Linked DNA regions of Homo sapiens: regions 1, 2, 3, 4, 6 and 7 are each linked to region 5. The links are contacts of gene promoters, found by promoter capture Hi-C in blood cells and fetal thymus (Javierre and others, 2016). All regions are on one chromosome and are shown on one strand. Each heading gives the region's core, a stretch centred on a gene start or on the middle of the fragment in contact. The rest is flanking DNA. Distances are from core to core; before and after follow the strand shown. Region 1 overlaps MATN2 (matrilin 2). Region 2 overlaps POP1 (POP1 ribonuclease P/MRP subunit). Region 3 has its middle 7.8 kb from the start of RPL30. Region 4 overlaps VIRMA (vir like m6A methyltransferase associated). Region 5 holds the start of PTDSS1 (phosphatidylserine synthase 1). Region 6 overlaps LAPTM4B (lysosomal protein transmembrane 4 beta). Region 7 overlaps MTDH (metadherin).

Region 1 (3,806 bases), core at 783-3,282, 1.8 Mb after region 5:
ACTTCAGCACAATGGATGAGATAAGTGAAAAACTCAAGAAAGGCATCTGTGAAGGTACTATAGCTTACGCCGAAGACCTTAGCAAACAAGGCAGCATGAACTCCTTTTTTTTTGTTTTTTGAGATGGAGTCTCACTCTGTCATCCAGGCTGGAGTGCAGTGGCACAATCTCAGCTCACTACAACCTCCGCCTCCTGGGTTCAAGTGATTCTCATGCTTCAGCCTCCCGAGAAGCTGGGATTACAGGCACCCACCACCACACCCAGCTAATTTTTGTATTTTTAGTAGAGATGAGGTTTCACCATGTTGGCCAGGCTGGTCTCGAACTCCTGACCTCAAGTGATCCAGCCACCACAGCCTCCCAAAGTGCTGGGATTACAGGCGTGAGCCACCGTGTCCGGCCAGCATGAACCTTTAGTGATAAATTCTCAACCAAAAAAAAGTGTCTCCTTCATGGGCAGGGCCAGCAATGCCTAGAAACAGTACAAAAAGAAGGGCTGGGCACCATGGTTCCCACCTGTAACCCAACCATTTTGGGAGGCTGCGGTGGGAGGATTGCTCGAGCCCAGGAGTTCAAGACCAGTTTAGGCAACAAAGTGAAACCCTGTCTCTGAAAAAAAATTTAACAATTAGCTAGGCATGATGGCACACACCTGTAGTCTCAGCTACTTGGGAGACTGAGCGGGGAGGATCGTTTGAGCCCTGGAGGTCACGGCTTCAGTGAGCCATGATTGCGCCACTGCACTCCAACCTGGGTGACAAAGCAAGACCCTGTCTCAAAAAAAGAAAAAAAAAAGGTGGGGGAAACAGGGGAGGTGGGAAAGAAAAAAGTAATAGCTACCATTGTTTGCGCCCTTGCTCTGTGCCAAGCAGTATAATAAGTGTTTTGACACACCAGCATGCTTCATCCTCACAAACACCCTAGAGAAATGATCATTTAACTAAAAATCAATCATTATATAAATCAGGAGAGCTGAAGTGCAATTTCAGAATATACCTATAATTGGAGTGGAAAGGGGCGTACCTAGTTCTTCCAAGCCCACTGTTAAAATTAATGCCTTTCTGCATGGACTACTTGTTTACAGAATATCAGACTGCCCTTTAGACTTCAGATTTTGTTATGCATGCTTTTCTCCAGTTTACTAACTGTGCCAGATATGCTTACAGATAGCAGTTCTGCCTATTTTTCCTTGTACTCATGTCCCCGGCTCACCAGTTAGATCCCAGTCTAAGTGCTGTGTCTTACCCCTCTAGGGAAAGAACTCTTGAGATGAGGGGTAACAGGGAGGGAAGGCCTTTCAGATTTCTGAGTAGAGAATGTTTTGCCTCTTGATTGTTTCATGCAAGTTAAAATGCCTCAAGTGGAGCTGCTGCCACTGCAACTAAAATCCCTCAACAACTTCACCTTTTTTTTCTGCCCTACTTTCTAGACATGACATTTTTGGGAGCATTCTTAAGATGTACTTAGGGGGTCCAAGCTTCTCTTACGAGAGAGAATTGCCCTAGAGTGGTCATAAGTATCATGGTAACCAACTGCTTTTTTGAATCTTTGGTGTTACCAAACAAAACTAAAAAACCTTAGGTTATGGCAGGTAGGTAAGGAGGTGGTCTGGGACCAGCTTCCTGAAGAACACACACATGCCTGTGGACAACCATCACTTCTTTTGGTCATCTTTTTCTGCTCAGCTCTAGAAGACTCCGATGGAAGACAGGACTCTCCAGCAGGGGAACTGCCAAAAACGGTCCAACAGCCAACAGGTACAGTTTTTAAGGCAGTGTTTTTAGAAATTTTGGTGGAGGGAACCATGGTTTCCCTCCAGATAAAAGCTGTAAAGAAGTGAATGTAAGTATGTTCAAATTATGATAATGAAGGCCTTTTTTCCCTCAAAAAGATAGTTAACATTTACTCTTACATTAAGCCATATTTGGTAACTAGCATCGTTTCAGGTGACAGTGTTTTTTTGTTTTTGTTTTTGTTGTTGTTGTTTTTTTGAGACAGTTTCATTCTGTTGCCCAGGCTGGAGTGCAGTGGTACGATTTCAGCTCACTGCAACCTCCACCTCCTGGGCTCAAGTGATTCTCCTGCCCCAGCCTCCCGAGTAGCTGGAATTACAGGCACCCACCACCATGCCCAGCTAATTTTTGTATTTTTAGTAGAGACGGGGTTTTACCATGTTGGCCAGGCTGGTCTTGAACTCCTGACCTCAAGCGATCCACCCACCTTGGCCTCCCAAAGTGCTGGGATTACAGACATGAGCCACTGTGCCCGGCTGTTTTTGTTTTGTTTTTTGTTGTTGTTGTTTTTTGTTTTTTTAATAAAGATGTTTACTCCACTGAAGATAACAGTCTTTTTGCTTCAGTATGTCCCAAAGTAAAGCTCTGTACCAAGTGCTAGGAATACCAAGTACCTTACTCTGCTGATGGCTGTTTTATAACCAAAAGCGTTAAGCAGGTTTGATTGCAGTTTTCTTTCTCTTTACAGAATCTGAGCCAGTCACCATAAATATCCAAGACCTACTTTCCTGTTCTAATTTTGCAGTGCAACACAGATATCTGTTTGAAGAAGACAATCTTTTACGGTCTACACAAAAGCTTTCCCATTCAACAAAACCTTCAGGTAATTCCAAGTAAAATATTACTATAAGATAACTTGATCTCAGCCTTTCGGCTTGCCAACAACCTTAGCTTTAAGGAGGAAAGGAAAGAAGGAAGTAGGAAATAGTATAGAGGAAAAGAGAAGAAAGAATTTAAGTAAAATGAGAACTAAAACATAAACTAAAAGAAACTCAAGTAGTGTTCCTCAGTAATCCACAGTAAGGGCCACTTCCAGTGTTGGAAGCATATACAGTGCTTTCCTGGTATTTACTGGATCTGGCTGCATGGAAAAAGTGGAACATGTCTTTCATTATGGTTTCCTCCATATGCTGATTCATTCCTATTATTATGCGTCTGGGAAGTCTGGTGGATTCTAGAGGTGAACACTTTCCATCTGCTTTCTCAGGAAGCCCTTTGGAAGAAAAACACGATCAATGCAAATGTGAAAACCTTATAATGTTCCAGAACCTTGCAAACGAAGAAGTAAGAAAATTAACACAGCGCTATATCCTTTTCTTGCATTATGCTTCTGTATGGAATGCAAAGAATATTATCAAAACTTCACACACTCTATGTAGGTTTTATCAACTGAAGTAAATCCCACGAAGTCACAAAGAACAGTGATCTCCAGGAAAGGCTTTTTGCTTTAAAAAGCAGCCTCACAGGTGTTTGAGAGGCAAGGGCAAGCCAAGCTTATTAGCAGCAGTCAAGCACTTAGTTGCCATCGGCTGTTCTCGGGGGCTTAGCAATAAGGCCTGTCAGTCAGCATACAAAGTAAGGAAAAAAGAGACACTGGCCTAACTCCGTCTCTGCTAGGAAGGTGTGTAGGACATGATGAGGTCTGAAGTGCATCAAAGGTACGGTAAGTATAGACAAAGAATGTTGTAGAATGAAGAGGTTTCAAACTCAGTACTCCAAACTTTTCCTTTAGCCCCAAGGAACACCACAGCCACATATAGATTCAGTGTGTTTAGTTTCTGGAGGACAGGAGTGGTTTTTTCTTTTTTTTCCCTTGGCAGCAGAGATCTTCTCTATCGGCACTCTAAAAAATGAAACACTCCACCAAGGGAACAGCAGGATCCAATGATTCATTTAAACAATATTAAATAAAAGGAATGCTTGGGGATAATAAAGAAAAGAGGATTCGGTGCTTTTACATATTGAACACCCTGCCAAGTGCTCTAAACTTAAAATTACAGTAAGCGTACTAAA
Region 2 (3,512 bases), core at 680-3,179, 1.9 Mb after region 5:
GCACATATTTAGTGCTTATTAAAGTTTGACAAAACTGACTTGAAGGTGAAGGTAAGAGTTAAGATTCCTTCTGGAAACTTTTTTTTTTGAGACAGGGTCTTGCTCTGTCACCCAGGCTGGAGTGCAGTAATGTGATCAAGGCTCACTCACTGCAGCCTTGACCTCCCTGTCTCAAGCGATCTTCCCACTTCAGCCTCCCGAGTAGGTGGGACCACAAGCTCATAACTATGCCTAGCTTATTTTTTGATTTCTTTGTAGGGATGAGTTCTCACTATGTTGCTCAGGTTGGTTTCTCCTGAGCTCAAGCAATCCTCCCGCCTTGGCCTCCCAAAGTGCTGGGATTATAGATGTGAACCACCACACCAGGCCTCTGGAAACTTTTAAATTAAATCCTCAGACTTCATAAAGATGCATCCTATATTCATTCCCTTCTGCTGTTAGAGGACCACTGCCAGTTTGATTTCCTCATATTTTAGTCTGGACCCAAAGCTCAGGGATGTTCCCAAGGTTATCCTAATCCTCCAGCACCAACCTTTTCTTGGACCATTCTAATACTGAGGGGAGCTAGAGTTTCTATGGTGTTCTTGTCTAGCCTTGCTGGTGAGTTCTGATTCAAGCAGGTAACAGTAGGTTAACTAAGTTGTTTTGTAAAATATTTGGAATGGCTTTTAATGCAGACCGATCTGAATCATGTGCTTCACTAGCCAGCCAGTTCTGCAGAACTCCATTTACTTCCTTCATACTGTTTAATTTGAAAAATGTTTTTGCATGTAGATATAGCTGTCTTTCATTTAGTTGAAATTAGTGGAGTGAGACAGTGAAATGGCATCAATCCCTGCTATTTCATTTATTATTTAAGAATAATAGCTACCATAAACTGAGCATTTAGTTAGCATAAAGCCCCATGCTAAGTGAGTTGTGTATATGCATTTTGCAAAGCCAAAACCATGTACAGTATGTATATGTTTGTTCATTTTTTTATTTTGAGACAGAGTCTCACTCTATCGCCCAGGCTGGAGTGCAGTGGCGTGATCTCGGCTCACCACAATCTCCGCCTCCTGGGTTCAAAGGATTCTCGTGCCTCAGCCTCCCGAGCAGCTGGGATTACAAGCGCATGCCATCACACGTGGCTCATTTTTGTATTTTTTTTTTTTTTTCTTGAGACGGAGTCTTGCTCCGTCGCCCAGGCTGGAGTGCAGTGGCGCGATCTCGGCTCACTGGAAGCTCCGCCTACCGGGTTCACGCCATTCTCCTGCCTCAGCCTCCCGAGTAGCTGGGACTACAGGCGCCCGCCAACACGCCCGGCTAATTTTTTGTATTTTTAGTAGAGACGGGGTTTCACTGTGTTAGCCAGGATGGTCTTGATCTCCTGACCTTGTGATCCTTCTGCCTCGGCCTTCCAAAGTGCTGGGATTACAGGCGTGAACCACCGCTCCCGGCCTCATTTTTGTATTTTTTAGTAGAGATGGGATTTCACCATGTTTGCCAGGCTGGTCTTGAACTCCTGGCCTCAAGTGATCCACTCGCCTTGGCCTCCCATAGTGCTGGGATTACAGGCATAAGCCATCCCACCTGGCCTGTATATAATGTTTAATTCTCACAGCAACTTGTAGAGGAAGAGGCTGAGGCTGAAAGTGAGAAAGTAATTTTCCTAAGATTATGTAACTAAAAAGTGTAAAGAAGGAATTTGAACCCACATCTTTCAAACTCCATAGTGAAAGCCCTTAAACACTATACCATATAGGCAAGTCTTAATTTTGTGTGAGGTCTTGCATTGGAAAAGGAAGTAAGTGAATGGGGGGTAATTTAGTGGCTCTCAGTGGAAGTGGGCAAATTCTGATGTGGCTGGCATTTTGGAAGTTTGTGTAGGTGTTTTGGTTGGCATAATTGGGCTAACATTGCTGGCATTTATTGGGCAGGGACCAGGGATATTAGACAGCCTGCTATGTGCAGAAAAGCCCCACAGTAGCCCAGTACCTAATTTATATAAAATTATTGGTTACACGGGTTTTTTTTTTTTTTTTTTTTGAGATGGAGACTTGCTCTATTGCCCAACTTGGAGTGCAGTGGTGTGATCATCTCGGCTCAATGCAACCTCCACCTCCTGGGTTCAAGCGATTCTCCTGTCGCAGCCTCCCGAATAGCTGGGACTACAGGTGCGCGCCACTGCACCCAACTAATTTTTTTTTTTTTTTTGAGATGGAGTCTTGCTCTGTTGCCCAGGCTGGAGTGCAGTGGCACGATCTGGGCTCACTGTAAGCTCCACCTTCTGGGTTCACACCATTCTCCTGCCTCAGCCTCCTGAGTAGCTGCGACTACAGGCGCCCGCCACCATGCCTGGCTAATTTTTTTGTATTTTTTTAGTAGAGACGGGGTTTCACTGTGTTAGCCAAGATGGTCTCGATCTCCTGACCTCATGATCCGCCCGCCTCAGCCTCCCAAAGCGCTGGAATTACAGGCGTGAGCCACCACGCCCGGCCCACCCAACTAATTTTTGTATTTCTAGTAGAGATGGGGTTTCGCCATGGTGGCCAGGTTGGTCTCGGACTCCTGACCTCAAGTGATTCGCCTGCCTCAGCCTCCCTAACTGCTGTGATTATAGGCATGAGCCACCGCACCTGGCCTGGTTACACCGTTTTAATATGCACTGAATTTTCCAGTAATGCAGTAAATCAAAGCAAGTTTGTACTTTTTTTGGCAGGGTGGCGGGGGTGGGGGTAGTTTACTAAGGAGTGTTGACCAATTTGGAAAATTACGTCATTAGTGGCATTGCTACCTTCTCTTTGAGGCACTGGTACAACACACCTGTGCTGCTTTGCCTTTGTAGCTGTTGAATTCATGGTAATTTTATGTATAGGTAGAAGTAAAGACTGGTATTAAAATACTGAACTGCTTTGAGAACAGCTTGGTAAATACCAGCTGCTCTGAGCTTCCCTACCTCCTAGTGTGTCCATGTATAGGGCCCTTCGGATTTCCTGCAGTTAGCAATGAAAGAGTTAATCACTGGTACCTTGGGGTTGAAGGGCTTCCAGGACCATCCAGCTTTATGGATTGTGCCAATGCCTGTGCTGGTGCCTGTGTGGATGTTATTATTCCCTGGGTTCAAAATCTATTCATAATATCATCTAGTGTAGTTGTGGTGAAATAGTTACATACAGAAATACATATTATTTTATTAAAATTACTTCTTAGGTCTCCTTTATGTTACATTTAGGGCATCTATTGTAGGGTATGTCTCGATATGTGTCTAATAGGTTATAACATTCATTTCATTTAAAAATAGAGAACAGCTGCTTCAAACTGAATCAGTAAAAATAGGGGATGTTGAGTTTGAGAGTTGGGAACTACTGACTGGTAAATCAGTCGGGGTCCCACTGTTTTTGTCCTTTATCTTGCTTCAAATTGAAATCATTATCTATTGCTATTATAAATTAAATATATAGCTGGCATCATCTGAGTAGTAGAAATGAAAGCGTCAGTAATTTGTGTTGTTTTTAATAGAGTTTCTCCTT
Region 3 (3,363 bases), core at 88-2,587, 1.8 Mb after region 5:
CCCCCCACCTCCCAGACTGGGCGGCGGCTGGGCGGAGGCGCCCCCCACCTCCCAGACGGGGCGGCTGGCCGGGCGGGGGCTGCCCCCCACCTCCCAGATGGGGCAGCTGCCGGGCGGAGGGGCTCCTCACTTCCCAGACGGGGCTGCTGCCGGGCGGAGGGGCTCCTCACTTCCCAGACGGGGCGGCTGCCGGGCAGAGGAGCTCCTCACTTCTCAGACGGGGCGGCCGGGCAGAGACGCTCCTCACCTCCCAGACGGGGTGGCGGCCGGGCAGAGACGCTCCTCAGTTCCCAGATGGGGTCGCGGCTGGGCAGAGGCGCTCCTCACATCCCAGACGGGGCGGCAGGGCAGAGGCGCTCCCCACATCCCAGACGATGGGCGGCCAGGCAGAGATGCTCCTCACTTCCTAGACGGGGTGGCGGCCGGGCAGAGGCTACAATCTCGGCACTTTGGGAGGCCAAGGCAGGCGGCTGGGAGGTGGAGGTTGTAGCGAGCCGAGATCACACCACTGCACTCCAGCCTGGGCAACATTGAGCACTGAGTGAGCGAGACTCCGTCTGCAATCCTGGCACCTCGGGAGGCCGAGGCGGGCAGATCACTTGCGGTCAGGAGCTGGAGACCAGCCCAGCCAACACGGCGAAACCCCGTCTCCACCAACAAATACAAAAACCAGTCAGGTGTGGAGGCGCACGCCTGCAATCCCAGGCACTCCGCAGACTGAGGCAGGAGAATCAGGCTGGGAGGTTGCAGTGAGCCGAGATGGCGGCAGTAGAGACCAGCCTCCGCTCGGCATCAGAGGGAGACCATGGAAAGCGGGAGAAGGGGAGGGGGAGGGGGAGGGGGAGGGGTGTTCTACCTTCAAAGCTTTTTTTTTTTGAGACAGTCTTGCTCTGTCACCCAGGCTGGAGTACAATGGTGCAATCTTGGCTCACTGCAACCTCCACCTCCCGGGTTCAAGCAATTCTCTTGCCTCAGCCTCCCAAGTAGCTGGGATTACAGGCACCCGCCACCACGCCCAGCTAATTTTTTGTATTTTTAATAGAGACAATTTTTTGCCATGTTGGCCAGGCTGGTCTTGAACTCCTGACCGCGTGATCCACCCGTCTCAGCCTCCCAAAGTGCTTTTTTTTTTTTCCTTTCTTTCTATTTTTTTTTTTTTTTTTTTTTTTTTTTGAGACAGGGTCTTGCTCTGTCACCCAGGCTGGAGTACAGTGGCACAGTCAAGGTTCACTGCAACAACCTCCCTGGCTCAAGGGATCTTCCCACCTCAGCTTCTGAGTAGCTGGGACTACAGATGTGTGCTGTCATGCCTAGCTTATATATATATTAATCTCTCATATATATTTATTTATTATAGAGACAGGTTTCACTATATTGCCCAAGCTGGTCTTGAACTCCTAGGCTCAAGCGATCTTCCCATCTTGGCCTCCCAAACTGCTGGGATTACAAGAACTTGCCTCAAAGCATTTGTTTTATTTATTTTTTGAGACCAAATCTCACTGTCATCCAGGCTGGAGTGCAGTGGCACAGTCACAGCAACCCCGACCTCCTAGGCTCAAGCAATTCTCCTGCATCAGTCTCCAGAGTAGCTGGGACCACAGGTACATGCCACCATGCCCAGTTAACTTTTAAATTATTTCTAGAGATGAGAGCTCACCATGTTGCCCAGGCTGGTCTTGAACTCCTGGCCCCAATTGAACCTCCTGCTTAAACCTCCCAAAGTACTAGGGTTATAGATGTGAGCTGCTGTGCCAAAGTTTTTATTTATTAATTTAGGGGAGGAGATAGAAGGAGAGGAGAGAAAGGAGCACAAAGCTTTTTTTTTTTTTTTTTTTTTTTTTCTTTTTTGAGACAGGGCCTTGCTCTGTCACCCAGGCTGGAGTACAGTGGCAGTGATCTTCACTCACTGCAGCCTCCGCCTCCCGGGTTCAAGCGATTCTCCCACCTCAGCCTCCCTAGTAGCTGAGACTACAAGCACTCGACACCATGCCCGGCTAATTTTTGTATTTTTTGGCGGAGTTGGGGTTTCACCATGTTGGTTAGGCTGCTGTCGAACTTCTGACTTCAAGTGATCTGCCTGCCTTGGCCTCCCAAAGTGCTGGGATTACAGGTGTGAGCCACTGTGACTGGCCGCAAAGCTTTTAAATATTCACTTTCCTCCAAAGTAATCAGGATAGTTGCTGTCCCTGTTTTAGAGAATAAATGATTAAAGTGCATGAGGTAACTTTTCTGAGGCACTTTTCTTTATATGATACCAAGTATCCCATCCCAATTATGTGCTATGGTTTGAATATTTGTGTTCCTTCCAAAATTTATAGGTTGAAACCTAATCCCCCAATGCGAGTGTTAGCAGGTGGAGCCTTTAAGAGATAATTAAGTCATGAGGGCAGAGCCCCGATGAATGGATTAATGCCATAAAAAGGGCCATGAGAAGGTTCATAGTCTCTTTTGCCCTTCTGCCTTGTGAAGATGAAGTATTCATACCTGCAGAGGATGCCGCATTCCAGGCACCATCTTAGAATAAGAATCACCAAACCTGCTGGCACCTGGATATTGAGCTTCCCAGCCTCCAGAACTGTGAGCCAATAAATTTCTGTTTATAAATTAACCAGTCTCAAGTGTTCTGTTAAAGCAGCAGGAAAAGACTAAGATACTATGTGTCCTCACTATACTTTAAAGAAAGGACTTAGTTGCTTTCTCCCAAGGATCTTACCATGATTTTGTACTGGAAACCAGTGAAGCCCAAAGCACTCATTTTGTGTCTGAATCATGACCACAAAATGGGAATGCCTCCTAGGGAATCTTAACTGAATCCATTCTACCTCTCTTTGGAGACAGACTTGGGGCCTTGGTTTCTCTTTCTGTCTCTCTCTCTTTTTTTTTGTTTTTAAAGATGGAGTTCTCATTTTGTTGCCCAGGCTGGTTTCGAACTCTTCCTGAAGCAGTCCTCCTGCCTCAGCCTCCCGCAGTTCTGGGATTACAAGTGTGACCCACTGTGCCTGGTTAACATTTCTCTTTCATACCTGCATGACTTTGAGCAATTTTTAAAATCTCTGCAGCCAGGTGCGGTGGCTCACACCTGTAATCCCAGCACTTTGGGAGGCTGAGGTTGGTGGATCACCTAAGGTCAAGAATTCAAGACCAGCTTGGCCAGCATGGTGAAACCCAGTCTCTACCAAAAACACAAAAATTAGCCGGGCGTGGTGGTGCACGCCTGTAATCCCAGCTACTTGGGAGTCTGAGGCAGGAGAATTGCTCAAACCCGGGAGGCGGAGGTTGCAGTGAGGTGAGATCATGCTGCTGCACTCCAACCTGGGTGACAGAGTGAGACTCTATCTCAAAAAAAAAAAAAAAAAAAAAAAT
Region 4 (3,646 bases), core at 950-3,449, 1.7 Mb before region 5:
CTTTTTACCACATACTCTTTTGTACCTTTTGTATTTGTACCTCATACATGTATTACCTAGTCAAAAAAAAAAAGAAAATTTAAAAAAATAAGCTTACTTTTGAAATATTATATAGGTGTATTACTTCTTGATTCACAAAGATGTACAACACATTGTTAGGTGAAAAACGAAACCACAAAACAGTATTACAGTATTGTAATATTAACGTGGGCAACGGGTGTATACATTTAAGCATAATATTCACTAGAGGATTTGGAAAAATATTAATATAAAGACAGCTGTTAATTACAGTGTAAAATACAAAGTAAAAGCTGATTACAATAGGGAGAGATACAGAAAGGAAATTAATTCACTCATCAACAGGAATATACAAATACAATAGCTTTCCACTCATATACTTGTTTACCAAATAACCTTGCTTAAATCTGATTTTAACTTAAACAACTTTTTCTAATATTGTATATGTTAACATTAGAGATATAGTGTGCTTTTTTATATTTTTTTATTATTTATTTATTTATTTTGAGACAGAGTCTCGCTCTGTCGCCCAGGCTGGAGTGCAGTGGCACGATCTAGCCTCACTGCAAGTCCCACCTCCCAGGTTCACGCCATTCTCCTACCTCAGCCTCCTGAGTAGCTGGGACTACAGGCGCATACCATCACGCCTGGCTAATTTTTTTTGTATTTTTAGTAGAGACAGGGTTTCACCAGGTTAGCCAGGATGGTCTCAATCTCCTGACCTCGTGATCCCCCTGCCTCAGCCTCCCAAAGTGCTGGTATTACAGGCATGAGCCACCGCGTTTGCTATGTTGCCCAGGCTGTCCTCCCAACTCCTGGGCTCAAGTGATCCTCCCACTTCAGCCTCCCAGGCTGGGGCTACAGGCACACATGCCACCACACCTGGCTTATCTTGCATTCTTGATTTGTAATGTTAAGTGTTTTTTCATTCACGGGAACACTATTCCCTCACAATCAAATTGTCTTTTAATAAGTTTAACTGCTTATCTTCTGAACTCAGTGGATTGGCCTTATAAATGTGTATCAATTGTTTATGTGGAGAAGAGGAAATTATTGGTAAAACAAATACAATACCAAAAAAAGAGCTGTTAATGGCAGCTGGCAATAAAGATTCCCTGTGTGAAACTAATAAATGTCTCTTCTCTACCATATTACAAATTCCTTTGAAATCAAGGGCAATGGGCTTTGTTCTGACTTGTATTGCCCCTCCTAAAGCCATACCCTCACCTTCAAAAGTGTTTTTCATAAATAATTGTTAAACAGATTCTCAACTTCCTATGGGGCAAATTAATCTGGCTAATTATCCCGTTCCCATCAAACTCACTTCCACACTCTTACCATCATTAGTCCCACTAGTTCTCCTGTCTCTAAAACTAGAATTTTACCATTTTTAACTACCCTATCTCCTTCACATAATCAGTTGCCATCCTGTCAATTCTATACTCGAAATTTGTACATATCCAAAACTTGTATAAATCCTCTCCTACGTAGTTCCACTGGGACACAGCATAGCACTGCCTTAGAGCCAGAAAAATGTATGATGGTGGATCTTAATCTAGCTATGCTATTTTAGGAAAGTCACCTCATCTCTCAGGCTCAGTTTCCTTATCTATAAAATGTAGATGACTACCTTTGAAAACTCAGCGTGGGCCCTGCAGTGGCTCACGCCTGTAATCTTCGCACTTTGGGAGGCTGAGGTGGGAGAATCGCTTGAGCTCAGGAATTCAAGACCAGCCTGGGAAACATGGCAAAACACCGTCTCTACAAAAAAATATGAAAATCAGCCAGGCGTGTTGGTGCACAACTGTAGTCCCAGCTACTCGGGAGGCTGAGATGGAAGGATCGATTGAGCCCTGGTGGGAGAAATTGCAGTGAGCTGTGATCGCACCAGTGCACTCCAGCTTGGGTGACAGAGCAAGACCTAGTCTTAAAAAAAAAAAAAAAAACTGATGGAAGGACCAGAGATGATTTACTTAAGTTATCAAAGCCCACTGTGTCTGGCACAAATTAAGCATTCAATAAATGTTAAACAATGCTTACTGCCCATTGGCTAACTCAGGTTTTCATAACATCTCACTTTTTCTCTCTGATTTTGTCACCTCACCTCTATTTTCTCTGAACCATTTTTTTTTTTTTTCTTTTTGAGACGGAGTCTCGCTCTGTCACCCAGGCTGGAGTGCAGTGGCACAATCTCGGCTCACTGCAAGCTCTGCCTCCCGGGTTCACGCCATTCTCCGGCCTCAGCCTCCTGAGTAGCTGGGACTACAGGCACCTGCCACCACGCTCGGCTATTTGTTTGTATTTTTAGTAGAGACAGGGTTTCACCATGTTAGCCAGGATGGTCTCGATCTCCTGACCTCGTGATCCGCTTGCCTCGGCCTCCCAAAGTGCTGGGATTACAGGCATGAGCCACGGCGCCTGGCCTTCTCTGAACCATTTTAAGTATTATTGATCAAGTAATCTATCTAATGTATCTTACTAATTGTATGATTCGCCTGCTCAAAAACTACCCATTTCCTACAAAATAAAGTCCATAATTTTTATTTATTTATGTATTTATTTATTTTAAAAGACAGAGTCTTGCTCTGTCGCACAGGCTGGAGTGCAGTGGCGTGATCTTGGCTCACAGCAACCTCCTCCTCCCGGGTGCTAGCAATTCTCCTGCCTCAGCCTTCCGAGTAGCTGGGACTATAGACGCACACCGCCACGCCCAGCTAATTTTTTGTATTTTAGTAGAGACGGGGTTTCACTGTGTTACCCAGGCTGGTGTCGAACTCCTGACGTCAGGCAATCCACCCACCTCAGCCTCACCAAAGTGCCGGGATTACAGGCGTGAGCCACTGCGCCTGGCCTAAAGTCTGTAATTCTTTGTCGAGCATTCAAGGAGCTCCATGATCTGTCTTTGAATTGCCTTGGGTGCCACTTCACACTGCTACTTCAAGCATACCCTAACAGACGACTGACTACCCCAGTAGAATGCCCTCCTTTCCTAACTACAACTGTGAAATATTGCCCCTTTCACCAAAGACCAAGTTCATAAGCCAAACACCTTGATGAAGTCTTTCCTGATACACTCAAATGAAAAGTTATCTCTGCCTCTTCTGAAATCTTGTATCTTTTATTTATACCCACAAAGGGAGCTAGTTCTAATACGTCAGATACTGATGGGCATTTTGTAAACTAAGATGATAAACCCCAACGAATTCACACTGTGCTTCTTTATGTGATCATCACATTCTAACTCAAATCACAATTTTGTGAATCTAATCTCCAATACTGAGTTATAACTTCTTGAAAACAAACATTTCAATATTTCGTATCACCCACAAACCCCTACTTCCTCCTTCAAGACTTGATTTAAATGTGATCTCTGCTAAGCCTTCCCCAATCACCCCAGAAGAAAGCATTTACCATCTGCCCTATGCTCTCAAGGTATTCAATGTTTACCTAAGAATGAATAAAAGAATAGAAATACATGATAAACTAATGAAGGCCAATTTTCCTAAACTAGAATAGTACTAAACTAATTCATCACATGCCTCTTTCTCTTTTTCCTTTTTCTCTTTCTTCCTTTCGAGACAGGGTCTCACTCTGTTGCTCAGGCTGGAGCACAGTGGTGTGATCTTAG
Region 5 (3,537 bases), core at 401-2,900:
GATAGGTGGTTTCTGTTAGATTTTGGTGGGAAATGGGACTCCAAATGTGCCAAGTTTTCCCTCAAACCTACAACATTCATTCTCTGCACGGTAGTCATAAGGGCACTAAATTGAAAGTCAGAAGACCTCGGTTGTGCTACCTTGACAAGGCTGTTTCTGGCAGCAGTCTAACAAAAGCAGCAGTCTAGCCCATGATGTGGGGGGTGGGGGTGGGGTCAATAACTATTCTTCAAATAATGCTTTTTTAAAAGGCTAGGGGTACAATAAGATGATTCTTAAGGCCCCTATCAGCTCTAACATTTTTTGACGTCTAAGCACTTCATCCTACTTCAAACTCCTGAAATCCCAAATTCATCCTGAAGCCTTTCCACACTCAATACCACTTAAACATCAGGAAGACTCACTTTCAAATTTCACCCCGTCATTAAAAGATCTTTGTGCATACAACTAATGTTTATCCTTGCATTTTTATTTACAAGTGCACTATCTTCTCCACATCCTTTCATTGCTGCCTACACATCTTAACAATTGATTAACTGTTCATGCACGAGAGCAGAGCTGGGTCTCATCCCTGGATCCATCCTTCCGGGGACTATTCTCCACTTTCCCAGAGCCTTGTACTGCTCTAATGTTTGCGGAATGGAAATAAATCAATGGCAAGTACAGTTAACTCACTTGCTTACACAGTATGCAAAAGCGGGTAGGGGATGTGCAGATGTGTATAAAAGCCCTGTAAGGTGGTAACCTGAAGTCTTCTAACAAGGTCCTTTCATCAGGAAAATTACAGAAAACCCTTAAAGAAACTGAAGTCTCTTAACAATTCATATATACTGTTCTCAATGAGTGCCTAGTGCTTCGCTAGAAAAAGGCACTGAAATAGAGTTCAAGATTTCTACCTACGAAATGCTATAAATGAAATCAGGAGAGAAAGGGAGGTTATGGGGGCAGCTTCCTAATAAAGGGTCTCTCAATACTTCCCAGGCCATTTTAGCCCACTTCAGTTCCCCAAACTTGCGCAGGAAGGCAGAGCCCCCTCCTGAGGCTTCTCACACTGCGCTAATTAGCCAGCATGGTTGAGTTTTCACTACATCAGCCAGGGAAAAACACAAAACAAAACCAATCACCCTCTACTGGGCCGCGAAAACCTAAAGGCCCTTGAGGCCCTGGGGCGCGGTCTGGACGCGGGTGCGCCGGAACCTGAACCCTCGCCAGGAGCGCGATCCTCGTGCTGGGGCAGCTCCTGCTTTACCTGTGGCGAGGCCTGCTTCCCGTAGCGGGTGACCCCGGGACCGACCAACTCGCTGGGCCGCACGTCCCGTCCCGCCGCGCCGCACGCCGGCTCCTCAGCCCGCCCTACACAGCGCAGCCGCGCTCCCGGGCCCACGTGGGCCGCGCCCGGAGTGGGCGAGACCATGTGCCGGGTTACGCGGGGAGACAGCGGGCTACGTGCTCTGAAAAGAGCCAGCCAGGGGCCCCGGCTACCCTTCTCCGGCTCGCTATTCCTCTGAAGTCCTGTGGACTTGGAGTCTGAAAATTCCTCGAGTGGTAGAGATGCCTCAGCTAGGATGACAGCGTGGGGACGGCCGGCGGCGTCCCCTGCCCCAGGCCGCGGTGGCGGCGCCGCGACCCCGCCCTCTCGCGCCTGTCCTTCCCTCTGCTCCCAGCCTTTGCTGGGCGCCAGACCCGGCTTTGCCGTCCGGCTATTAGCCTACTGTGGCTAGTCACCCCCGGGGTCCCGGCCTTCTCGGGCTGGGGCCGCCGCCACCGCGGCAGGACGGGGAGGCGGGCCATGGCGTCCTGCGTGGGGAGCCGGACCCTAAGCAAGGATGATGTGAACTACAAAATGCATTTCCGGATGATCAACGAGCAGCAAGTGGAGGACATCACCATTGACTTCTTCTACCGGCCGCATACCATCACCCTGCTCAGCTTCACCATCGTCAGCCTCATGTACTTCGCCTTTACCAGGTGGGGCGGCCCAGCCGAGCGGGGGGCGCGTCCAAGGGCTAGGGAAGAGGCGGGAGGGAGGGTGGCGGGGAGGGGGGCCCGGCATGGCTCTGGGTGAGGAAGTGGGCTGGCTGCTCCACGCACACGCACTGGCAGCCCGCCGCCCACGCGGCCCCTCCGCCCGCCCGGTGTCTCACAGTACGCTAGCCTGCTCCCCTACCCCTCAGTGCCCCTTCTCCATACAGCGCCTCCGGTTACACGGGGAACGCACGCGAGTCACCTAGCACGATCGCCCCCTCACCCACCGCACTCAGCATCGCTCCACACAACATCACGACGCGGGCCCCTCCTCTGCACTGCTCCAGCCTTCGTCCCTACCCAGCACACCGCATGAATCATGTCGTATGCACCACTTTCAGCACACACCGCTACACATACAAAGCACCCCAATCCACAGCGCCTGCAGGCACCATACACAGGCCCAGGACACAACCTAGATCCCTTCCTGTGGAACTCCGGTATTCGGCACTATCCGTAACGCACAAAAAATGCACATGTGTGCTGCATACACGGTCTTTCCTGTGCAGCACTTCCCGTATGCATTGCACACAAGTCATCCAGCATAACACTTCCCCCAGCCTCAAACACTACCATCTGTACCACGGCACAAACTGCCACTCTAAACACACACCTCACAGCGGACCTTTCCTTTCCAGCACAGCCCAATACCCATCATCTGTGTACATGGCTGCACAGACACCAGCCCGCCACACATCACGCGGTGCATACCCTGCTCACTCATTACCTAACATACGTGCTGAAATGTGATCTTGTCCAGCAATTTTAATGGTGCCTGGGGTATAGTAACTGCTGTGTGTTAAATGAAACACATAAACCTCACACAGCATAACACAACTCTCTTATTCCCTGGAAAACATACACACACATTCTAATATATACCGGTTCATAGGAGCTGCCCAGCCCAAATCTTGAACACACCTCATGTTAACTCTGGCACTGCGCCTGTGGCTCCTCATTCCTAACCTAGAGAACTAATTCATCCTTGGTTCATAAGGAGGTACACACCGTGGTTCCTACTTAGAATGATTTATACTTTCTGAATGAACCTCTTTAAAGAAAGGGAAGTCACACCTCTCTCACCATTATGGCTTAAAAGGCCAACTTAGAGTAGAGTAGTTTTTGAGCCACACTTTTGGTTTCAAAACTGGCTGTGTGTCCTTAATTAAGTTGCATAACCTTGCTCTGAGCCTCAGGGGCCACACTCGTAAAATGGGGATGAAATATCTACTTATATAGGGTTATGAAAATTAAATGAATGTGTGTGAATGCATTTAGCAGAGTCCCTGGAGCACAATGTACAATTCATGTCAGTTACTTCTCTCCCAGTATTTTTATCCAACAATCAAGGTTCTCTGTCAGGGTCAGCAGAACATGTGTAGGGATATATATATTGGGTAGTCACAAGGATTGAGAGAACTTCTAGTATTTGGGAGGGGGAGCAGTTAACGGATACTAAATGTATTGTGACATATGTGACAGCGCTGTACAACATAAAGGGAATTGTCTTCT
Region 6 (3,840 bases), core at 70-2,569, 1.5 Mb after region 5:
CCCAGCTACTTGGGAAGCTGAGAGAAGAATCATTTGAACCCAGGAGGCGGAGGTTGCAGTGAGCTGAGATCGTGCGATTGCACTCCAGCTTGGGCAACAAAAGCGAAACTCTGTCTCAAAATAAATAAATAAATAAAACAAAAAGTAAGAGTCCACAATAAGGGCTCATTTAAGTAATTTCCTGTTTTGCAAGATAGGTAAAGTGGATCTTTTTTATATGTTTTCTTATTGTTGATTCCTACCAATACCGTTTACTAAGGCTCCAAGTGTCATGTACTTTACTAGATACTTTGCATAAGGTTAATTTTTACATATTCCTGGTGAGGTAGATTTTCTTATTCCCATTTTACAGATGAGAAAACTGAGGCTTAGAGAACTTTGGTGATTTACTTGAGAGCTTAAAATCCCATGGTTGGTTTATGATCTGAGTGATGTTTTAATCTGTTCTGTTTCCACTGTTTTACTTTTAAAAGTTGTGCATGTGTTTTGGTTTTGTCTTGGAATAATAAAAGTTTTCCTTCAGTCCTGAAGTAAAGTATATTGACTTCAGGTATTTATTATTATTATTACTATTTTTAAAATTCTGGGCCACGCTAACTTTGGGAGACTTCAGGTATTTATTCTAGAGATCATTTTTTGTTTGTCTCTTTTTTTTTCTTTTATTGAGTTGTGATTTATGTACTACAATTTTTTTTTTTTGAGACCGAGTCTCGCTCTGACGCCCAGGCTGGAGTGCAGTGGCGTGATCTCGGCTCACCACAACCTCCGCCTCCTGGGTTCAAGCGATTCTCCTGCTCAGCCTCCTGAGTAGCTGGGATTACAGGTGAGCTCCGGGCTAATTTTTGTATTTTTAGTAGAGATGGGGTTTCCCCATGTTGTTCAGGCTGGTCTTGAACTCCTGACCTTGTGATCCATCCGCCTTGGCCTCCCAAAGTGCTGAGATTACAGGCGTGAGCCACTGTGCCCGGCCTTTTTTTTTTTTTTTTTTTTTGAGGAGTTTTGCTCTTATTGCTCAGGCCGAAGTGCAGTGGTGCAATCTCAGCTCACTGCAACCTTCGCCTCCTGGGTTCAAGTGATTCCTGCCTCAGCCTCCCAAGTAGCTGGTATTACAGGCACCCACCACTGCGCTTGGCTAATTTTTGTTTTCCTAGTAGAGACAGGGTTTCATTATGTTGGCCAGGCTGGTCTTGAACTCCTGACCTCAGGTGATCCGCCCGCCTCGGCCTCCCACAGTGCTGGGATTACAGGCGTGAGCCACCGTGCCCGGCAAAATTCACAGTTAAATGTAGTTTATTGAGTTGACAAATGCCTCTGTAATGTAACCCACATTCCTTGAGAACATTTCCAAACTTTCAGCAAGTTCCCTTGTGCTGTTTCCCAGTTAATCCCTGCCATATCCCCAATCACTGTAGGTAAGTTTTGCTTATTCATGTAAAATGGAATTATGCTGTGTGTACCCTTCTGTATCTAGCTTCTTTCACTTAGCATAACTTCTTTTAGATTCATTCATCTTCTTGGAGTGTTGCTTTTTATTGCTGAGTATTGTTTTTATTGTATTAATATACCACAATTTGTTTATCCATTTGCCAGATATTGGACATTTGGGTTATTTCCAATTTGGGGCTATTATAAATAAAGCTGCACTGAACATTCTTGCACAAGACTTTGGGGACTTTTTTTTTTTTTTTTGAGACAGAGTTTAGCTCTTGTTGCCCAGGCTGGAGTGCAATGGTGCGATCTCGGCTCACCGCAACCTCCGACTCCCAGGTTCAAGCAATTCTCCTGCCTCAGCCTCCCTAGTAGCTGGGATTACAGGCATGCGCCACCACACCTGTTTAATTTTGTATTTTTAGTAGATAACAGGATTTCTCCATGTTGGTCAGGCTGGTCTCGAACTCCCGACCTCTGGTGATCTGCTCCCCTCAGCCTCCCAAAGTGCTGGGATTACAGGCCTGAGCCACCATGCCCAGCTTTTTTTTTTTTTTTTTTTTTTTTTTTGTGACAAGATCTCACTCTATTGCCCAGGCTGGAGTGGCTCAATGCAGCCTTGTCTTCCCTGGCTCAAGCAGCCTTGCCATTTCAGCCTCCCAAGTAGCTGGGACTACAGGCTCACACCACCACTCCACACCACTCCAGGCTTTTGTTTTTGAGACAGAGCCTCACTCTGTTGTCCAGGCTGGAGTGCAGTGGCGCAGTCTCAGCTCACTGCAACGTCTGCCTCCCGGGTTCAAGCGATTCTCCTGCCTCAGTCTCCTGAGTAGCTGGTACTACAGGCATGCGCCACCATCCCTGGCTAATTTTTTATTTTTGGTAGAGACGGGGTTTCACCATGTTGGTCAGGCTTGTCTCGAACTCCTGACCTCCTGATCCACCTGCTTCGGCCTCCCAAAGTGCTGGGATTACGGGCGTGAGCCACCGTCCCCAGCCTTTTTTTTTTTCTGAGACGGAGTCTCGCTCTTGTTGCCCAGGCTGGAGTGCAGTGGTGCAGTCTCGGCTCACTGCAGCCTCCGCCTCTTGGGTTCAAGTGATTCTCCTGCTTCAGCCTCCAAAGTAGCTGGGATTGCAGGCATGCACCACCATACCTGGCTAATTTTGTATTTTATTTATTTATTTATTTATTTATTTATTTATTTATTTATTTTTTAGTAGAGACGGGGTTTCTCCATGTTAGTCAAGCTGGTCTCAAACTCCCGACCTCAGGTGATCTGCCCGCCTTGGCCTCCCAAAGTGTTGGGATTACAAGTGTGAGCCACCGCGCCCGGCCTTTTTTTTTTTTTTTTTTTAAATATCCTTGTTCAGTTATTTTTTAGGAACTTAGACACAGCAAATACATACCAAATGCCTCTGTGCCAGACACTGTTCACAGGGTAGTTAGCCATATATCAGATTATAAAGGATAAAAGAGGTCAGAGTAGCTGCTTCATTGGCTTTATGACCTGGTCTTTCTTTTTAATTTTCTTTCTTTCTTTTTCTTTTGTTTTTTAATTATACTTTAAGTTCTGGGATACAAGTGCAGACCTGGTCTTTCAAAGAATCCACTTGTTCACATAGAAACTCACAGTTTCCTTGTTTACTCAAGTAAAGGAAACCAGAATATCTCACCCAAAATATACCTCTTTGGTATATTTCAAGATAGTATTAGAGAAACTGCAAACAAGAATAGCTCTGAAAAGCTGCTGTTTGTGGAGATTTGCATCTTTAGGGAAAATCTGCATTAGTGAAATAAACAGCCAGGCTTTCTCTGAGCACACCTCCCCACCCCATCCCCCATGTTCAGACCTTGGAAAGATTAACCGAGAGATTGAGAGTCTGACACCTTTGAAGGTCTAATAGAGAAGTTTACCACATACCACAGGCTACCAAGTATCTTTTCTCAAGCCTTCTACCTGTGGGGTCTCATTTGCATAACAAGACCACCTTCCCTAGCCAGGCCTTTCCGTCCCTCCCTCCCATAACCTGTTTTGCCGTGATCTAAACCCCTATTCTTTCTGTAACTTCAGAAAGACATTAAAACTTAAACCATCTGGCCCTTCCTTTGAGTTTTCTTATTTCTGTGACTCCCACGTATGCGTGTGCACGTAATACATTTGTATGCCGTTTCTTGCTGTTGATCTATTATCAGTTTGTTTATTAGACTCAAATGATCAAACCTTCAGAAGTTGTAGAAGGGGGAGAATTTTCTTCACCCCTTCACAAGCCTGATAGATTTTCTTTGTATTCTGAGAAGTTCAACAACTATTGATTTGTCTGAGTACAGGATAGTAAGACCAACATCCTGTATTTGTAGAGTGATTGATAGCTTTCGGTGGGCATTCACATTTGTTCTTATTTAGACCTCAA
Region 7 (3,638 bases), core at 874-3,373, 1.5 Mb after region 5:
GGTGGCATACGCTTGTAGCCCCAGCTACTGGGGAAGCTGAGGTGAGAGGATCACTTGAGCCCGGGAGGCAGAACTTGCAGTGAGCCAAAAATCACACTACTGTACTCCAGCCTGGGTCACAGAGTAAGAACCTGTCTCAAAAAAAAAAAAAAGATATTTTAATTTCAGATGTATCAGATTATTAGAAACATGCATAGGTTTTTTTAAAGCACTAATACTGTTACATTACAACTTCTTAAAATATTTGTATTCCTTACTATAACTATGTAATTAATTGTTTAAATGTAGGAGACAGGGAACCGCAATTTCTAGGGTTAGCCCACATAGTAATTTTTCCTACTTATTGTTCTATTTGTTTATCTTTTTTTTTTTTATTTGAGACAGAGTCTTGTTCTGTTGCCCAGGCTGGAGTGCAGTAGTGCGATCTCAGCTCATTGCAGCCTCTGCCTCCCAGGTTCAAGCGATTCTCCTGCCTCAGCTTCCCAAGTAGCTAGGATTACAGGCATGTGCCACCACGCCTGGCTAATTTTTGTATTTTAGTAGAGACAGGCTTTCGCCATGTTAGCCAGGCTGGTCTCAAGTGATGTGGTCTCAAGTGAGCGGCCCAACTCAGCCTCCCAAAGTGCTGGGATTACAGGCGTGAACCACCACGCCCAGCCTTATTTATTTATTTATTTTTGAGACAGAGTCTCACTCTGTCACCCCGGCTGGAGTGCAGTGGCATAGTCTCACCTCACTGTAACCTGCCTCTCCCAGGTTCAAGTGATTCTCCTGCCTGAGCCTTCCAAGTAGCTGGGATTACAGGCATGAGCCACCACACCCAGCTAATTTTTGCATTTTTAGTAGAGAGGGGATTTCACCATGTTGGCCAGGCTGGTCTCAAGTGATCTGGCCTCGAGTGATCTTCCTGCCTCAGCCTCCCAAAGTGCTGGGATTACAGGTGTGAGCCACCACGCCCAGCCACTTACTGTTTTTGAAAGAAGTTTCTACATGGCTTTTTAAGGAAATATGTATTCAGTTATTTTTTATTGTGGGAAGCACAAACCCTCATAAATGATACAAGCTTATTATCAATACTTGCTTGCTTTTTCAGTAGTCAAAATGAATGGGCATTAAGGTTGTAACATAGCTAAGATCAGTGGATATGAACAAACTAACACTCTATAATAGGTATGCTTTTCTTGTTAGCTGGAGCTGGTAGATGAGAAATGTTACATCTATCCTTTGTTAGTAATACTACCTGAAAACCATTTTAGCCAAGTTTTTCTTGAATTTCTTTGACTTTGAGTATTTACTAATAATGATTTAGTGGATTGTGGATTAGTGGAGCTCCTTTTAAAATAAATTTTGTAGGATAGATGTATTCTGAAATGTTTAACGTATTGGCAAAGGTCATTAACATGTGACTGTTTCTTTGGCATTCTGATTATCCTTTTAAAAATGTTCACTGTGTTTTTAAAAATATAATGAATAAGTATTCTAGGTTTAGAGTCAGATCTATATTCTGAATCTTGTTCTGTCATTTTTTTTTTTTACCTTGCACAAGTTACATAATTGCATAGGTTGTTTTGAGAATTTGATATCCATGAAGTTCTATGCTGAGTACATAGCACATATATCCTATTAATAAAAGGTTATGGCTGGGCGCGGTGGCTCACGCCTATAATCCCAGCACTTTGGGAGGCCACGGCGGGTGGATCACCTGAGGTCGGGAGTTCGAGACCAACCTGACCAACATGGAGAAACCCTGTCTCTACTAAAAATACAGCATTAACCGGGCATGGTTGCATGCACCTGTAATCCCAGCTACTCGGGAGGCTGAGGTAGGAGAATCACTTGAACCCGGGAGGCGGAGGTTGCGGTGAGCCAAGATCATGCCATTGCACTCCAGCCTGGGCAACAAGAGTGAAACTCCATCTTAAAAGAAAGAAAAAAAAAGTTAGGCCGGGTGCGGTGGCTCATGCCTGTAATCCCAGCACCTGTGAGGCCGAGGCGGGTGGATCACAAGGTCAGGAGTTTGAGACCATCCTGGCCAACATGGTGAAACCCCGTCTCTACTGAAAATACAAAAATTAGCCGCACGTGGTAGCTGGCGCCTGTAGTCCCAGCTACTTGTGAAGTTGAGGCAGGAGAATCGCAGGTTGCAGTGAGCCAAGATTGTGCCACTACACTCCAGCCTGGACAACAGAGTGAGACTGTCTCAAAAAAAAAAATTATATTGTTTTTTCTCTTTTTGTTTTGTTTTGTTTGTTTGTTTTTTGAGACATTCCACTCTGTGGTCAGGCTGGAATGCAGTGGCTCCATCACAGCTCACTGCAGCCTCAACCTCCTGGGCTGAAGGGATCCTCCTGCTTCAGCCTCCCAAGTAACTAGGACTACAGTTTTTTTATTTTTTTGTAGAGACAGAGTTTCCCTATGTTACCCAGGCTATCCCAAACTCCTGGGCTCAAACAGTCCTCCTGCCTTGGCTCCCAAAGTGCTGGGATTACAGATGCAAGCTACCGCACCAAACCCAAAGTCCTTTTTGGTGTTCGTGTGTGGCTGATGGGGTCTTTCACTGTTGAGTTCAACTTGGGATGGAAATAAATTGATGTCTTCTGACTTTGTAAGATTGCAAAACTTTGAAAAACTTTGTAAGATTACAGACTTCACCCACATACTTCCAAAGCTACCTGCTCAGCCTAAATATATAGAAAATTTTGACTATCTAAACCCACTACTATACTGAATAACTATCATAAAATAGAACATCAGTGTCAGAAGAACATTAAGATCATCTTAGCCATTTGTTAAAAAGAACGGCCATTTTATATGGATGCATTTGCCAAAGAAAAATACAGTAATCCTTCTATTTAATATATTCTAGTTCATGTTTACTTTACATATAATTTACTAAGCATATAATGTGCTCTAGAATTATTTTGCTGAAACTTCATAAAAGTTTGAAAGTCTAAGAATGGAAATCTTGCTGCCCTGATGTCCTGTGGTGTTTGGCATGTGCCCTCCTGTCTCCTGACTAATCAGAGTGGCATGAGGCCCACGCCACCCAAACCTTTCACTTTCCAAAGAGCTAGCCATCCTCCACCCTGTACCATGGTGTCCTAGCCTGTCTGCGTTTGTTAGTGGTGATATTCTTTATGTATAATAAATTTTTATCCCCCCCCCCCCAAAAATGGAAATCTTAAAGCTTATGTGAGTTTTTAGAAATTATTAGGGCAAATTTTACTTTACAGTTGAGGAAACAGGCTTAGGGAAACTAAGTGACTTGTCCCTGAGATTGTTTGTTTGTTTGTTTGTTTTTGAGACAAGGTCTCACTCTGTCACCCAGGCTGGAGTGCAGTGGCACGATCTTGGCTCACTGCAACCTTCATCTCCCAGGTTCAAGCAACTATCATGTATCAGCCTCCCAAGTAGCTGGGATTACAGATGTGTACCACCATTACCAGATAATTTTTGTATTTTTAGTAGAAACAGGGTTTCACCATGTTGGCCAGACTGGTCTTGAACTCCTGACCTCAAGTGATCCACCCACCTCAGCCTCCCAAAGTGCTGGGATTACAGGCATGAGCCACAGCACCCGGCCTAATTTTTGTATTTTTAGTAGAGATAGGGTTTCACCATGTTGCCCAGGCTGGAGT

What was found. The method cuts DNA at HindIII sites, captures the fragments that hold promoters and counts their contacts. A CHiCAGO score of 5 or more calls a contact.
Region 1: a contact is called between a fragment that was not itself captured here and the fragment with the promoter of PTDSS1 in region 5, in 8 of 17 cell types (naive CD4 T cells, non-activated CD4 T cells, fetal thymus and 5 more). The highest score is 9.0, in naive CD4 T cells.
Region 2: a fragment that was not itself captured here is called in contact with the fragment with the promoter of PTDSS1 in region 5 in 7 of 17 cell types (naive CD4 T cells, non-activated CD4 T cells, activated CD4 T cells and 4 more); the score reaches 10.5 in naive CD4 T cells.
Region 3: a contact is called between a fragment that was not itself captured here and the fragment with the promoter of PTDSS1 in region 5, in 1 of 17 cell types (fetal thymus). The highest score is 5.5, in fetal thymus.
Region 4: a contact is called between a fragment that was not itself captured here and the fragment with the promoter of PTDSS1 in region 5, in 2 of 17 cell types (total B cells and total CD8 T cells). The highest score is 5.3, in total B cells.
Region 6: a fragment that was not itself captured here is called in contact with the fragment with the promoter of PTDSS1 in region 5 in 1 of 17 cell types (activated CD4 T cells); the score reaches 8.6 in activated CD4 T cells.
Region 7: a contact is called between a fragment that was not itself captured here and the fragment with the promoter of PTDSS1 in region 5, in 1 of 17 cell types (total B cells). The highest score is 5.9, in total B cells.

Annotation. Positions count from the first base shown.
Region 1 is chr8:98,030,561-98,034,366 of GRCh38, forward strand. It overlaps MATN2 (matrilin 2), which reads left to right. Exons shown (of 19, transcript NM_002380.5): 15 at 1-54; 16 at 1,686-1,757; 17 at 2,482-2,616; 18 at 3,001-3,099. Among named protein-coding and RNA genes, the nearest start is that of SNORA72, 9.8 kb to the right of the region's middle. RefSeq lists an enhancer at 1,981-3,180. The HindIII fragment of the contact is 1,114 bases long and covers 1,476-2,589 here.
Region 2 is chr8:98,119,505-98,123,016 of GRCh38, forward strand. The region is part of intron 1 of POP1 (POP1 ribonuclease P/MRP subunit); the gene reads left to right. Among named protein-coding and RNA genes, the nearest start is that of POP1, 4.0 kb to the left of the region's middle. The HindIII fragment of the contact is 5,033 bases long and covers 1-3,512 here.
Region 3 is chr8:98,051,699-98,055,061 of GRCh38, forward strand. No RefSeq gene overlaps it. Among named protein-coding and RNA genes, the nearest start is that of RPL30, 7.8 kb to the left of the region's middle. The HindIII fragment of the contact is 951 bases long and covers 863-1,813 here.
Region 4 is chr8:94,548,150-94,551,795 of GRCh38, forward strand. The region is part of intron 1 of VIRMA (vir like m6A methyltransferase associated); the gene reads right to left. Among named protein-coding and RNA genes, the nearest start is that of VIRMA, 3.5 kb to the right of the region's middle. The HindIII fragment of the contact is 4,218 bases long and covers 91-3,646 here.
Region 5 is chr8:96,260,252-96,263,788 of GRCh38, forward strand. PTDSS1 (phosphatidylserine synthase 1) reads left to right here and starts at 1,651. Exons shown (of 13, transcript NM_014754.3): 1 at 1,651-1,968. The coding sequence starts at 1,790. MTERF3 (mitochondrial transcription termination factor 3) reads right to left here and starts at 1,359. Exons shown (of 8, transcript NM_015942.5): 1 at 1,250-1,359. RefSeq lists enhancers at 112-805, 957-1,016, 1,499-2,191, 2,337-2,576 and silencers at 1,180-1,504, 1,257-1,406, 1,587-1,956, 2,007-2,186. The HindIII fragment of the contact is 8,922 bases long and covers 1-3,537 here.
Region 6 is chr8:97,780,309-97,784,148 of GRCh38, forward strand. The region is part of intron 1 of LAPTM4B (lysosomal protein transmembrane 4 beta); the gene reads left to right. Among named protein-coding and RNA genes, the nearest start is that of LAPTM4B, 6.4 kb to the left of the region's middle. RefSeq lists an enhancer at 2,204-2,712. The HindIII fragment of the contact is 6,902 bases long and covers 1-3,840 here.
Region 7 is chr8:97,714,467-97,718,104 of GRCh38, forward strand. All of the region lies in intron 9 of MTDH (metadherin), which reads left to right. Among named protein-coding and RNA genes, the nearest start is that of LAPTM4B, 60 kb to the right of the region's middle. The HindIII fragment of the contact is 2,124 bases long and covers 1,062-3,185 here.